2 separate regions of the Homo sapiens genome follow, and region 2 is linked to region 1. Evidence: promoter capture Hi-C in 16 types of primary human blood cells and fetal thymus (Javierre and others, 2016). All regions are on one chromosome and are shown on one strand. Each heading gives the region's core, a stretch centred on a gene start or on the middle of the fragment in contact. The rest is flanking DNA. Distances are from core to core; before and after follow the strand shown. Region 1 holds the start of MAK16 (MAK16 homolog). Region 2 holds the start of PCMTD1 (protein-L-isoaspartate (D-aspartate) O-methyltransferase domain containing 1).

Region 1 (7,094 bases), core at 1,001-3,500:
GTGAGGGTGGCACCTGTGACTTGATCTAACCAATGGCATAAGGCAAAGTCTATGGAAAGTCACTGCCATAATTTTTTAAGATTATTTAAGATTATTTAAGATTAACATTATTTAAGATTCTGTTTTAGCAGACTGGAATTTAACTCGTTGCTGGCTTGATGAAGTAAGGAGCTATGTTGAGAAATCCCATGTGGCAAGAAGCCACAGGCAGCCTCTAGGACCTGTGGGTGGCCTCCCGGACACACGCCATCCTTACTGAGACTGTGTCCTTCTTACACTTTTGTTATTAAAATGGTCTTGTTACTGGAAAGTGGTCCCCAATCAGACCCAAGAGAGGGTTCTTGGATCTTAAGCAAGAAAGAATTTGAGGTGAGTCCATAAGTTTCGTAAAGTGAAAGCAAGCTTATTAAGAAAGTAAAGGAATGAAAGAATGGCTACTGCATAGGCAGAGCGGCACCGAGGGCTGCTGGTTGCCCATTTTTATCGCTATTTGTTCATGTATTTTTTGAGACTGATTCTTGCTCTGTTGCCCAGGCTGAAGTGCAGCGGCTTGATCTCAGCTCACTGTAATCTCTGCCTCCCAGATTCAAGTGATTCTCCTGCCTCAGCCTCCCAAGTAGCGGGGACTACAGGTGCCCACCACCACGCCTGGTTAAGTTTTGTATTTTTAGTAGAGATGGGGTTTCACCACGTTGGCCCGTCTGGTCTTGAACTTCTGACCTCGGGTGATCCACCTGCCTCGGCCTCCCAAAATGCTGATTACAGGCGTGAGCCACCAAGCCCAGCCTATTTATTGATTATATGCTAAACACGGAGCGGATTACTTACGCCTCTCCTTTTTAGACCATATAGAGTAATTTCCTGATGTTGCCATGGCATTTGTGGCGCCAGTGGGAGTGTAGCAGTGAGGACGACCAGAGGTCAAACTCATTGCCATCTTGGTTTTGTGGGTCTTGACTGGCTTCTTTACTGCAATCTGTTTTATCAGCAACATCCTTATGACCTGTATTTTGTGCTGACCTCATCCTGTGATTTAGATGGCCTGACCCTCGGGAATGCAGCCTAGCAGATCTCAGCCTTATTTTACCCAGCCACTATTCAAGATGGGGTTGCTCTGGTTCAAATGCCTCTTGACAGTCTTTCTTTCCTTTTCTTTTTTCTTTTTCTTTTTTTTTTTTTGAGAGGTAGTTTTGGTTGTCACCCAGGCTGGAGGGCCACAGCATGATCTCGGCTCACTGCAACCTCCGCCTCCCGGGTTCAAGCGATTCTCCTGCCTCAGCCTCCCAAGTAGCTGGGATTACAGGCACCTGCTACCACGCCCGACTAATTTTTGTATTTTTAGTAGAGACGGGATTTCACTATGTTGGCCAGGCTGGTCTGGAACTCGCCCGCCTAGGCCGCCCAAAGTGCTGAGGTACAGGCGAGAGCCACCGCGCCCGGCCCGGCCGACAGTCTTTCTTCTATAATACGATACAAACTAGTAAAGATTTTCTTTTTCCCCTGGCGGAAAAGAGCTGTTAGGCTTCCAGATTTGTTTTTGTGGGTTATTAGACCTCTACTTTTCTTCTTGGTATTTTCCCTCCCTTATCAACTTTGTTTGTTGTCTCAAATAGGCAATGAGGAAGACACAGGTGTTTATTATTATTGGAATGCTCTTTCCATTTGGTCAGTGGTTTCTCAAAGCAGGAGGAATTCAAGTTCTGAGTTTCTAAAGTCAGGACCCGGTGCCGCACCCAACGTGGGCGTGGGGAGTGGCTAAGTCAGGGTCTGAGGGGCAGGGCCGGGGCCTGGCTGCGAGCTGGGGCCGGGGGACTCGGAGGAGCGGGGACCCAGCCCCGCCGCGCCGCCTGCAGCTTTCCCCAGCCTCCTCCCAGCAGAGGGGAGGCCCGACAGGGAGGGGTCCCATCCTCATGAACGGTCACAAACAGGGCGCTAGGGAAGCACGCCCGACCCCCGCGGTCCCCGCGCTCCAGGATTCGGCAGACTGCGCGCGTCCTGCCTCCCGCGGATCGCACTGGGTCCCAACAGGGTTCCCAGCTCCAGGCTGCGCCCATGAACAAGCCCAGCATTGCGGACGGGCGCGCGCAGACGCCAGCGTGGTGAAGACGCGGGGGCGCGCGCGCGGCGACGAGACTGCCAGGGGACGCTTCGCAACACCGAGAGTCTCAGCGTTTCTCGAGATAGGTGAGGCTGCGCGTTCCGGAACTGGTTTCCCGGAAGGAGCATGTCTGCGCCCGCGATCCGACCGGAAGTTGCACGCTGAGCCGCGGACACCATGCAGTCGGATGATGTGAGTCTCCTCCGGTTGTTCTTACACCCGGGGTTTGCGCAGGGAATTTTGCCCATTTTCGGACACTTAGAAAACGCGTACGCAGCGGGTCTGTTGCCTCGTGCCGCTCTGGATGTGAGGCTTCCGGAACCCCGATTTTCCAACATAGGTTCTCACGCGTGTCTAGCAGGGGTTTACTGCCCGCTGCCCCGGCCGGGTTGTGAGCACAGGACTCCGTCACCTCAGCCCATGGGGTCGATGTGTCCCGTCCTTCGTGCCTACCAATGCAGGACGTCGCGTCATGCTGTCAGCTGTCAGCTGTCAGCTCCGGACTTGGGGTGGGGGGCGGCCCGGGATTTGGCGAAGCTGACTCCAAGTTTAAGCGTCCTTCTCATCCATGTGCGCGTTACTCTTCCATCTGCGTTTCCTGTGTAGGCTTTTCTTTACATTTGCTCTACTTCTGCCTAAGTCATAATTTCGGAAGTATCCTAGATTCATTCATTGAGTTTTTTGTTGGAGAAATAACAGTGTGCTTACAGTGTGCCAGGCATTGTGGTAATTATTGAGGATTTGGTTAACCAGAAAAAATGTCCCACCTCTCCTGGAACACTGATGGGGGAGACACAGTAAACAAGTGAACAAATAAGTTAACAATTACACTATATAATCATACTATGAAAGAAAGACCAGAGATGATGAAGGACACTTCAGATAGGGTTACTCAGGGAAGGTTTCTCTGAACAGAAGATGTTTGAGTTGAGATCTAAAAGATAAGAATAAGCCAGTCACTGAGGAGCTGAGGAAAAAGCAATCCAGGCAGTAGGAACAGTAAAGTACAAAGAGTTGAAGATATGAGAGAATGAATATAAGGGTCATCAAAGTGACAATGTAAGACAGGTAATGAAATTAGATATGCTTGCCAGGGCGAGGTCATGCAGAATCTTGTAGGAAGTGTTTTTTAGGCCTTTTAATGATCTATGTTTGTGAAAAGTTGTCTAGTTGCTGTGTGAAGGACTTTTGGAGGGAAAAAATGAAAGCAAGGAGACTAGGGTATGACAAAGGTTGCTTCAAGCCAGACACAGTGGCTCATGCCTGTAATCCCAACGCTTTGGGAGGCTGGGGCTGGAGGATCGCTTGAGGCCAGGAGTTCGATTCCAGCCTAGGCAATAAAGTGAGACTCCATCTCTACAAAAAATAAAAAATTAGCTGGGCGCGGTGGTGTTCGCCTGAGGTCCCAGTTACTTCGAAGGCTGAGGCAGAAGGACTACTTGAGCCGAAAAGTCCGAGGCTGCAGTGAGCTATGATGGCACCACTGCACTCCAGCCTGGGTGACAGAGAGACCCTATCTCTAAAGTAAATAAATTTTTTTAAAAACGAAAGTGGCTTCGCCTAAGGTAGTAATTTAATGGTGGAGATGAAAAGAAATTGATGAATTTGAGACCTTTTACGTCAGTATAATTGACAAGACTTTGGTGATGGATTAAGTGAAGAAGAAAAGGAAGAAATCAAAGGATTTGGGATATAAATACATAGTTAAATGGTGATTTTATTTATTGAAGTGGGGGAACTCTAGGGAAGACTGTTCTTACGAGGGATGTGGAATTGAGAACTCCTTGTGGATATGTTAATATTTATGTTGCCTTTTAGATATTGAAGAGATGTCATATAAAAATCTGGTGCTCAGGAAAGAAGTCTGACCAGAAAATAACAATTTAGGAGTCATCCATTTAGAGATGATACTTAAAGCCACAAGCCTAAAAGAGCTCCCTTATTCTTCTTACCTGTTTCCTACCATCCCCCACCAGACACACCTATAAAATTCTTAAAGTGTGTTTTATTCTTTTGCCCTCTTCATATTTTTCCTTTAACAGTGGTAAAGCTTTTTTTTACCCCAGTTCCTCAAGGCAGCGCACTCAAAGGCTGTCATACTCTTACGCATGCTATGTGGCCTTTAGACCTGCTATTTTGTGATACTTTGTTTACATATCTTTCCCCTAACTAGATAGACGAAACTCTTTAAAGAGTATACTTTCTTTCATTCAGCAAATACTTAAGTGGCTACTGTGTGTCAGGACTTGGAGATGTCAGTGCCTTACATAAATTAAGTATATAATGCTGAATGAATAAAGAGCACATTAAGTACAGGAGGATAGCAGTAGATAGTTTTCTTTGCCCTCAATGAGATAAAATTATGGTATGTATATCTAAAAATCTAATACCATGAAGCCTTTTTTTTTTTTTTGGAGATGGATTCTCACTCTGTCGCCCAGGCTGGAGTGCAGTGGCGTGATCTCGGCTTACCGCAACTTCTGCCTCCTGGGTTCAAGCGATTCTCCTGCCTCAGCCTCTCAAGTAGCTGGGATTACAGGCACCTGCCACCACACCTGGCTAATTTTTCTATTAGTAGAGATGGGGTTTCACCATGTTGGCCAGGCTGGCCTCAAACTCCCAACCTCAAGTGATCCGCCTGCCTTGGCACTCAAAGTGCTGGGATTACAGGTGTGAGCCACTACACCCGGCCCATGAGAGCCTTTAATAATGGATAATGAACATAAGTAAAAAGGGAAAGTTACGAAGTATATAAAATGTGATTTCACAGAGTATGTCAAAAAAAGTCTGGAAAAATATTTACAGAATAGTAATGAAATTTTATCTCTGGGTAATGGAGTTATGATTATTGCTCATCTGTATTTAGCTTTTCTATAAGAATCTGCTGGGCTTTTTTGTTTTGTTTTGTTTTGTTTTGAGACGGAGTTTCACTCTTGTTGTCCAGGCTGGAGCGCAATGGCACAATCTCGGCTCACCGCAACCTCCCTCTCCTGGGTTCAAGCGATTCTCCTGCCCCAGCCTCCCGAGTAGCTAGGATTACAGGCATGCGCCACCATGCCCAGCTAATTTTGTATTTTTAATATAAACAGGGTTTCTCCATGTTAATCAGGCTGGTCTCAAACTCCTCACCTCAGGTGATCCGCCCAACTCAGCCTCCCAAAGTGCTGGGATTACAGGCGTGAGCCACCGTGCCCGGCCTTGCTGTTTGTATTTTAAAAAGTAAACAAGTCAGGCTATTTTACAAAACATTTCTTCCTCTCATTCCTGTCCTTGGGCATTGCCTTCTTGAATTAATATAGTATCTCTTGGGGCAGAGGATTTGAAATGGGCTTTTACTTTGTCTTGCAGGTTATCTGGGATACACTAGGAAACAAGCAATTTTGTTCCTTCAAAATAAGGTGAGTCTCAATTTACAACTTGGTCAAAGATTCCTTCAGTTGCCTCTTTGGCAACCCATTTTATAATCTTTGTTTCTTTTCTCCCATTCTAGAACCAAGACTCAGAGCTTCTGCCGAAATGAATATAGCCTGACTGGACTGTGTAATCGGTCATCCTGTCCCCTGGCAAATAGTCAGTATGCCACTATTAAAGAAGAGAAAGGTAACTCCCCAGTTTTAACTTCTAGAAGAACTGCTCCACAGCTTTTACAGGGATGTTCTTTAGTTTCTGTAAATAACACTAAAGCTATTTTACTTTATCTTCAGGACAGTGCTACTTGTATATGAAGGTTATAGAACGAGCGGCTTTTCCTCGGCGTCTCTGGGAACGGGTAAGCCTTACAACAAAACTACAGTGACCGCTGATCAAGAGCATCAAAGCCACATGCTTGACCATGATGCCCAATTCCATGACCATTAACTTTTGAGGCCATCCTCATTAGGCCATGGGTGTCACTGACAGTGAAAACCTAATGAATCATTTACACTTGCCCTTCAAACTTCCTGTTTCTGTTTGGTAGGTCCGGCTTAGTAAAAACTATGAGAAAGCACTGGAGCAAATAGATGAAAATCTGATTTACTGGCCCCGTTTCATTCGACACAAATGTAAGCAGAGATTCACCAAGATCACCCAATACCTAATTCGAATTAGAAAACTTACACTAAAGCGACAGTAAGTATTTGGATCATTCATTATTTTTAAATCTCTCTTTTTATGGAGCTTGTTTTGAAGTTGAGAAATTGTGAAACTTCGGGGCTTTCTATTCAACTTTGTGGAGTCTGTTATGATGTACTAAAGAGAAACTTTAGCTTTGACTAAAGGTGTGCCCTTTGATATGGCAGGACTTTTAAAACAGTAGAATACAACTTGATTATCACCCTCCTTGTCTGAAAATCTTTCAGAAAATTTTATTTTCTTTTTTGTTAAGACGGAGTCTCACTCTGTCGCCCAGGCTGGAATTTGCAGTGGCGCGACCTCAGCTCACTGCAACCTCCATCTCCCCGGTTGAAGCAATCCTCCCACCTCAGCCTCCTGAGCAGCTAGGATTACAGGCATGGACCACCATGCCTGGTTAATTTTTTTTGTATTTTTAGTAGAGATGGGGTTTCACCATGTTGGCCAGGCTGGTCTAGAATTCCTGACCTCAAGCGATCCGCCTTAGCCTCCCAAAGTGCTGGGATTACAGGCATGAGCCACCATGCCCAGCCTTCAGAAAATTTCCTCTATGACCCCCGAGGGAATCTTAACTTTAGAGATTTGAAAATGATCTAAGACATGTGACTATACAGGAATGTAAGAACTTTACTCTGGATTCACTGAAAACTAATTTTTAAAAGTGATATGAAATCCCCAGAATTAACAGAATACCTTCTCTAGGACTGTTAGGCCCTAATGCTTTTTGACTGTGATCTACATAGAATGCTAAAGATGATGTCAGACTTCGACAGAAAATTCTTTTTTCTTAGTTCACTGAAGTCTTAATTTTAGCATGGTGAATGCCCTGAGAATCCCAGAATGCCTGAACAAAAATGGCCGGATTAAAATACATGTAAAAATA
Region 2 (6,440 bases), core at 2,449-4,948, about 18 Mb after region 1:
TCATCAATTGATAACATGATTATCATTAAAGGTTTTTAAGAGCCTGCAAGTTACTGAAGAGTGCTCAGTAGAAAACACAGAAGAGTGTTTTATGCAAATTAGTTTTTAAACTCCAAGAATATTTTAAGCTCTAGAAATCATACCTGATGCATGTCTTGTATCAAGACATAAAGTTGAGTTATTTCTGGCTACCCGTGCATAATGTTCCAAAAAGGATTTTCAGGTTAAACTGGAAAATATGCTATGTCTTCCCATCAGCAATACCTCTCATTAATTTTTGAGAATACACATACACATAGTGTTTGATTCACAATCCTTCCCCACTTCAACAGCTGAAAAAATCTTACCATATTCTAAAAACGTCTTTAGGGGGCTGAAATATTTCTGTGTCACCTAATTATAAAACCCACTCACATCCAACATCCAATGTTACGTTGACCGAGAGATAATCAATGGCAGATACGCCATTTAGGTATGAATCCAATTATCATCCTTAACAATTGCCAGTAAAATGTCAAAGCTTTTCCTGTATTTTTGGTTTCTTCTCAAATACAGATTACAACTGACCATACTTTATTAATGTTAGTATTTGTCCCATTTCTTTTTTTTTTTTTTTTTTTTTTTTTGAGACAGAGTCTCACTCTTTTGACCAGGCTGGAGTGAAGTGGAGCGATCTTGGCTCACTGCAACCTCTGACTCGCAGGTTCAAGCGACTCTCCTGCCTCAGCCTCCCGAGTAGCTGGGATTACAGATGCCCACCACCAAGCTCGGCTAATTTTTGTATTTTTAGTAGAGACGGGGTTTTGCCATGTTGGCCAGGCTGGACTCGAACTCCTGACCTCAGGCGATCCACCTGCCTCAGCCTCCCAAAGTGCTAGGATTACAGGCGTGAGCCACTGCCCCCGGCCGCCACATTTCTTCCAACTATGTAGTTGCCACATCTAGTGGAAAATGAAAAAAGATTAATAAACCATATTATGACACCCTATTGTCTGTCATTATGCATTTTAAGTGACTACCAAATATTTTAAAATACCAATAATTACATAAGTAAATTTTAATCCTTTTAGACTTTTTTAGGGCCCTCTTGGTATTCTTTCCAGCACACTAATTTACAAAAAAGTTCAACTACGTTCATAAAAATGTTTACTGATATGAGACTATCCTTCCGAGTTTGTAAGCAATACGCAGCTGTGAGAGCTACAATTTACAATAACATCCCAATTTACCATGGCACCCAGCAGTGTCTAAAGTAACACAAATCCCCATCTTCTTGGTTAACAGCATAAGATCAAGGAGTTTAAAATTTTAGTAATATGCCACCAGAAACCTCATCTAAAAAAATACCATTATAGTTTCACACTATATTCTCTAGACTATTTTAAATGCATGTGATTACATTCATGTAGTTATTCTGTAAGGAACATTTCAAAGAAAGCAGAAAAAACCGTAAGGGCAACAATTTTTCGTTCATAGGAGGTAAAACAAGAGCAGAAAACACAGGTTCTTGGATTAAGCACTCCTGAATATAAACACGCACTATTACAAAAAAAAAAAAAAAGCAATGGGATCTTGAGCAGTTCTTTTACTCAAAGCCTCTATTTATTACTCTATAGAATGAGAAGAATGTCATTTATGTTGTTATGAGAAATATATGAGCATATTATTACCAAAAATAACTAAAATGTCATGGATTTTTTTATTCCTTTCGAGCACAGTTTCCAAATCATAAAATACTACACAATTTGGCTTAAAATTTCAGGCTATGCATGTTTAGAACCAGACGTTGTTCGTGATTATCTTCCTCAGTTGTTCTTTCCCTGGAAGCTAGCACCAAGATGAACACAGTACATTTTTAATAAATACAAGCTAGTGATTAAATCAACAAAGCCTCCAGCTCTTCTGCACACAGAAATACAGTATGCAATGGGAATTTCCTAGCTTTCTGTCTTACTTAATAGTAGGCAGTGTAGTATCACCCCTCCACTTCCAGTTTACTCCCTATAGCTTACTTACCAAAATATTTAATCCCTGTTGCTTTTTTTTTCTTGTCTCAGGCTAGGGCCACTAGCTTTCTATCTTTCCTACCTTACCTTTCCTTCACATATTAGCTACTTCATGTTAAAGAAATTACAAGTGTTCAACTGACCATATGGAATTAAAATTTACTTAGAAAAAAATGAAATAAAAAAAACCAAAAAGTAAACTAATTCAGCAACTTTATGTTTTATGGAGTCATCTAGCCTCATGTAAACTACCATTAAGCAATACGTAAACATATTAATCTGCTTAATACGAAAGTAATGTCGTCTGGCCGCAGACATTCTGAAAGTTTTGCCACATTGTTTCAAAATATTGGCTTGTAGCCCTTTTCAAAGCTACTGATTATTGAAAACTTGGCGACCATGTTTAACAATGAAGAAAAGGCTTCCCCAAGCCTACGTAGATTGGATTCTCTAATACATAGTAATAATGTTTTTTAAAATAATGAGGTGTGTAATAAAATGGAGGAATATCCATGATGCATTGTTGGCTAATAAAACGATATACTGTACTATATATGATCCCAATCTTGTTTCTAAAGCACACTCATTAAATGCACAGAAAAAAAAAATCCTGAATAACTACCCACCACACTTGGAGACTGGCTACCCTGGGTAGTAAGAAGGAGAAATATGGGGGGAAGGGCGCGAGAGAGGGCAGGTTTCCTCATTGTTTGGCTGCTTCATGTTTTTCTCAAGGAGCAAGCAGTACTTTTGTAATTAAAAAAATAAATAGGGGAAAAACACTGCTAAAAGCATACTTTTTTCCTCCGTAGCAAATTCTTCTGATTTGTAATGTTAAAAATATATCTCTGGTTTCTCGATTCTAAAAAGAGGACACACGAAAACAAAATTATAGAAGTTCCAAAAAATCTTGGATTTGCAAAATTACTCCCTCGGGTTCTGCCCGTGGGTCCTCCCCATGCCGGTGTCTGAAATTCCCCAAGCAAAACGCGGGCACTGCACTTCCCCGGAACGGTAGTAGACGCTCAAAAACACAAAAAGAGGCCTTGGCGCCTGCTATAACCTCTCAGTCCCCTCCCAGCCCCCGAGACTTCCCCGAGTCTACGTAGACTGGATTCTCTGCCTCCAAAACCAAAACAGAAGTCACTGGGCGGATCCAAAACGGCCCTAAGGGGCCCGCGGGCATCTCAAGACGCCAGCCTCGGGACTCTGGTCCCCAAGCCCAGGTCAGAGCCGAGGACGAGCCGAGGACGGGCCGAGGACGCGGCGCCCCGGCCTCCCTCGGGCCCCCGACCTCCCCGGCCCCAGGGACCCCGGCTCCCGACCTCCAGGCTTCGCTGGGCCCCTTTCGACTCCCCGACCTCCCAAGTCCTCCGCCCCCGGCCCGTCCTTCCCCCAACCTGCCCCGCAGCGCCTCAGTTTCCTGGCCCCCGACCTGCCCGCCCTTAAGTCCCCCTGCCCCCGACTCTTCGGCTGCCGTCCCCCTGGCCCTCTGGCCTCCAAGCGCATCCCAGTCGCCCGCCCGGCCCTAGCACGCGGGACTCGCACACCCCACGACCCCGAGCCCCCACTGGCGGCGGCGTTACCTGTGGCGCGGGCAGCGGCGCGCAGGCCAGGCGCTAGGACTCGGCGGGGTCCGCAGCAGCCAGACGCCGCTACCACCACAATAACAACACGGACGCCACCGCCGAGTGGAGAGGCGGGGCCCGGACCCGCGACTGGAGCAGCCAGAGCCTCCCGGACTCCGGAGCCGCCGGGGTCCGGGCATGCGCAGAGAACCACGGGCACAGGGGCAGCTCCCCGCGGACGCCAAAGTCAACAAGGCCGGGAGACGCCCCCATCTGGCCCCGCCCCCCTCAGGGCTCGCTCCGCCCCCAAGCCCAAACAACGCGAGGCCTTGACAGGCCAGAAGACGATGGCGGTAGGGGAGATCACGCGAGAGCATGGCCTCCACCTCTCCTCCCCACCGCCATCTCCACGTTCTCGCACCGGCGCTGGGGTGCAGGCTTTCAGTGGTCTCAGGGCTACGGCTTGTCGGTGCCTCGCCGCACAGTCCCCTTTGCATTGAAGGACACGGTCTTACGGTGTAGGAGCATTTTTGAGGTGCATTCCTGGATTTGGAGGCGAACCCCCAATGGTTACCTCCACAGAGGCTTTGCGAAGGGCGCTCACTGACTTAGGTGAAGAGCGAAGGCTCAAGACTGTGCCGCTTTATAGTGGCCCCTTGACGTCCAGAAGTTCCCCCCAGCGCCGGTCATAAGCACTCCCGCCGCCTGGGCCCCGCCCTGCCTGCCAGGCGCCCTCCAGCCTCAGCTCCCGGACGCCCGGCGTGGCCGCTTTCTCGCGTCTTGCTGACCCGGGCCGGGGGCGTGTGCTCCTCCTGCAGCGGACGGAAGATGCTGGGCCACGCAAGTTTCCCTGGGCTTGGTTAACCACCCCAAAGCCCATTTCCAGAAGGAAAGGGTGTTGAGGAGGAGGGATAGAAAGTCGAGAAGAGGGCCGGGTGAGTGGCTCACGCCTGTCATCCCAGCACTTTGGGAGGCCGAGACAGGCGGATCACCTGAGGTCAGGACTTAGAGACCAGCCTGGCCTACATGGTGAAACCCCGTCTCTACTAAAAATACAAAAATTAGCCGGGTGTGGTGCCGTGCGCCTGTAGTCCCAGCAACTCGGGAGGCTGAGGTAGGAGAATCGCTTGAACCCGGGAGTCGGAGGTTGCAGTGCTGAGATGGCACCTGGCCTGGGCGGCAAGAGCGAAACTCCATCTCAAAAAAAAAAAGAAGAGGAAATGAGGCATAGGGGCAGGCGAGCCGGGAAAATATTGCTACTAAGGATCCTAAGCAGTGAACATGCTGTTAATACTTGTAAGACTCCTAGCAAACTGCATTTAATTTTTTAAATTAGTTTTAGTGTACATAAAGGCATGTCTTTTCCAAATACTGTACTTTTTGAAGTGTTCTTTGTTGTTCATTAATCTTTGTGCGTTTCCCTTCAGTCTCTAATAGTAGGTTGTAGCATGATTTGCTTCCATCGTGTGAATTCTGTTCGGTTTTGATTTTCAAGTATGAGAGTGAGCGTAAGCTACCCTTATAGGTTACCTAAGGTAAGTTAGAATTAGAACGTCTTTATGCTAGGGTTACTACTCCCCACCATAACCAACCATCTGCAAAAGCGTTCAGAAAGAACATGCTAGCAAGGTCAAAAGCTTCAAATCACGAAATAAGAACTTGAAAACGAGCAAAATTGCTGCTGAGGCGCTCTGCCATTTAACTCAAAGGCTTCACTTTATTTAGGTTTAAAGTATGAGTGCATATTCAGTGGACATTGAGCTCCGAACTGTTCAAAATCTCTATTCATCTGCATTCTGGAGTAGAGCTGCGGGTCACATTATTAGCTCCATCTTTGGATTTCTGCCTGGACCCAGGGCACTCCTAACCGTTGTGGGATCATATAACAATCTTACAGGATGAATTTTCTGTTAGTCCAAGCAGAAATTTTGGCACATGAAAACTATCTTACCATAAACAAACAAAAAAAGTACAAATGGTAATCTAAGGAAAATAGCTAAAATCATTAAACAACTCTTACAGCCGTTTCCCCTGTTTTCTCTCCATTTTTTAAAAGCATATTTTCCTTTACTTTCTTCCTTCTGCTATGGGAATTTTTCAGGGTTCTAGACCTTTTTTCTCTTCTGCGGCTGGAAAGTTAAACACAGGTCATTTTTTAAATAAGACTGCTAGTAAATACCTTCTTAATAAACAACACCAAATGCTAGTCTTGTGGGTGAGTAGTTGAACAGCAAGTAAAGCACTCTATCACCTGTAATTTTCCTGTGGTAGGCACACCCCATCTCTACCTTCACGTAATTTCTGATTATGCCTCCATACCTTACACATATAATTCATTTGTGGGTGGGGGCGACAGAGTCTTTTGCTCTTTTGCCCAGGCTGGAGTGCAGTGGCAACCTCTGCTCACTGCAACCTCCACCTCCCGGCTTCAAGCAGTTCTGCCTCAGCCTCCCAAGTAGCTAGGATCACAGGAGCGCACCACCACCCCCTGCTAATTTTTGTATTTTTAGTAGAGATGGGGTTTCCCCTGTTGGCTAGGCTGGCCTCAAACTCCGATCTCAAGTGATCCACCCGCCTCGGCCTCCCAAAGTGTTGGGATTACAGGCATGAGCCACCACGTCTGGCTATAATTCACTTCTTGTGTGTGACTTCCTACTAATTTGTAATCATGAAAGTTGGGCACATACCCAGTATGCTCACTATTTCTCTGCAGGGCCTGATACAGTGGCTGCTACAACACTGATACTCTGCATTTGTTGAATGAGTAATTTAAATTTTAAATTATCATCTAGAATCATTTAGAGATTTATTTAGACTTTGATAAATTTAGATAACCCACACACAGTTTATTCCTAGAGTTCTTGAT

The links. Contacts are between HindIII fragments. The CHiCAGO score rates a contact against its expected background, and 5 or more counts as called.
Region 2: a contact is called between the fragment with the promoter of PCMTD1 here and the fragment with the promoter of MAK16 in region 1, in 1 of 17 cell types (non-activated CD4 T cells). The highest score is 6.0, in non-activated CD4 T cells.

The regions. Positions count from the first base shown.
Region 1 is chr8:33,482,932-33,490,025 of GRCh38, forward strand. MAK16 (MAK16 homolog) reads left to right here and starts at 2,251. Exons shown (of 10, transcript NM_032509.4): 1 at 2,251-2,290; 2 at 5,447-5,496; 3 at 5,589-5,698; 4 at 5,803-5,867; 5 at 6,057-6,208. The coding sequence starts at 2,276. RefSeq lists enhancers at 1,407-2,043, 2,031-2,180 and silencers at 1,671-1,860, 2,071-2,258. The HindIII fragment of the contact is 3,746 bases long and covers 401-4,146 here.
Region 2 is chr8:51,895,338-51,901,777 of GRCh38, forward strand. PCMTD1 (protein-L-isoaspartate (D-aspartate) O-methyltransferase domain containing 1) reads right to left here and starts at 3,699. Exons shown (of 6, transcript NM_052937.4): 1 at 3,593-3,699. It overlaps PCMTD1-DT (PCMTD1 divergent transcript), which reads left to right and starts at 3,978. Exons shown (of 4, transcript NR_189279.1): 1 at 3,978-4,509. RefSeq lists a silencer at 3,206-3,895 and enhancers at 3,936-4,225, 4,396-4,455, 4,756-4,815. The HindIII fragment of the contact is 4,691 bases long and covers 519-5,209 here.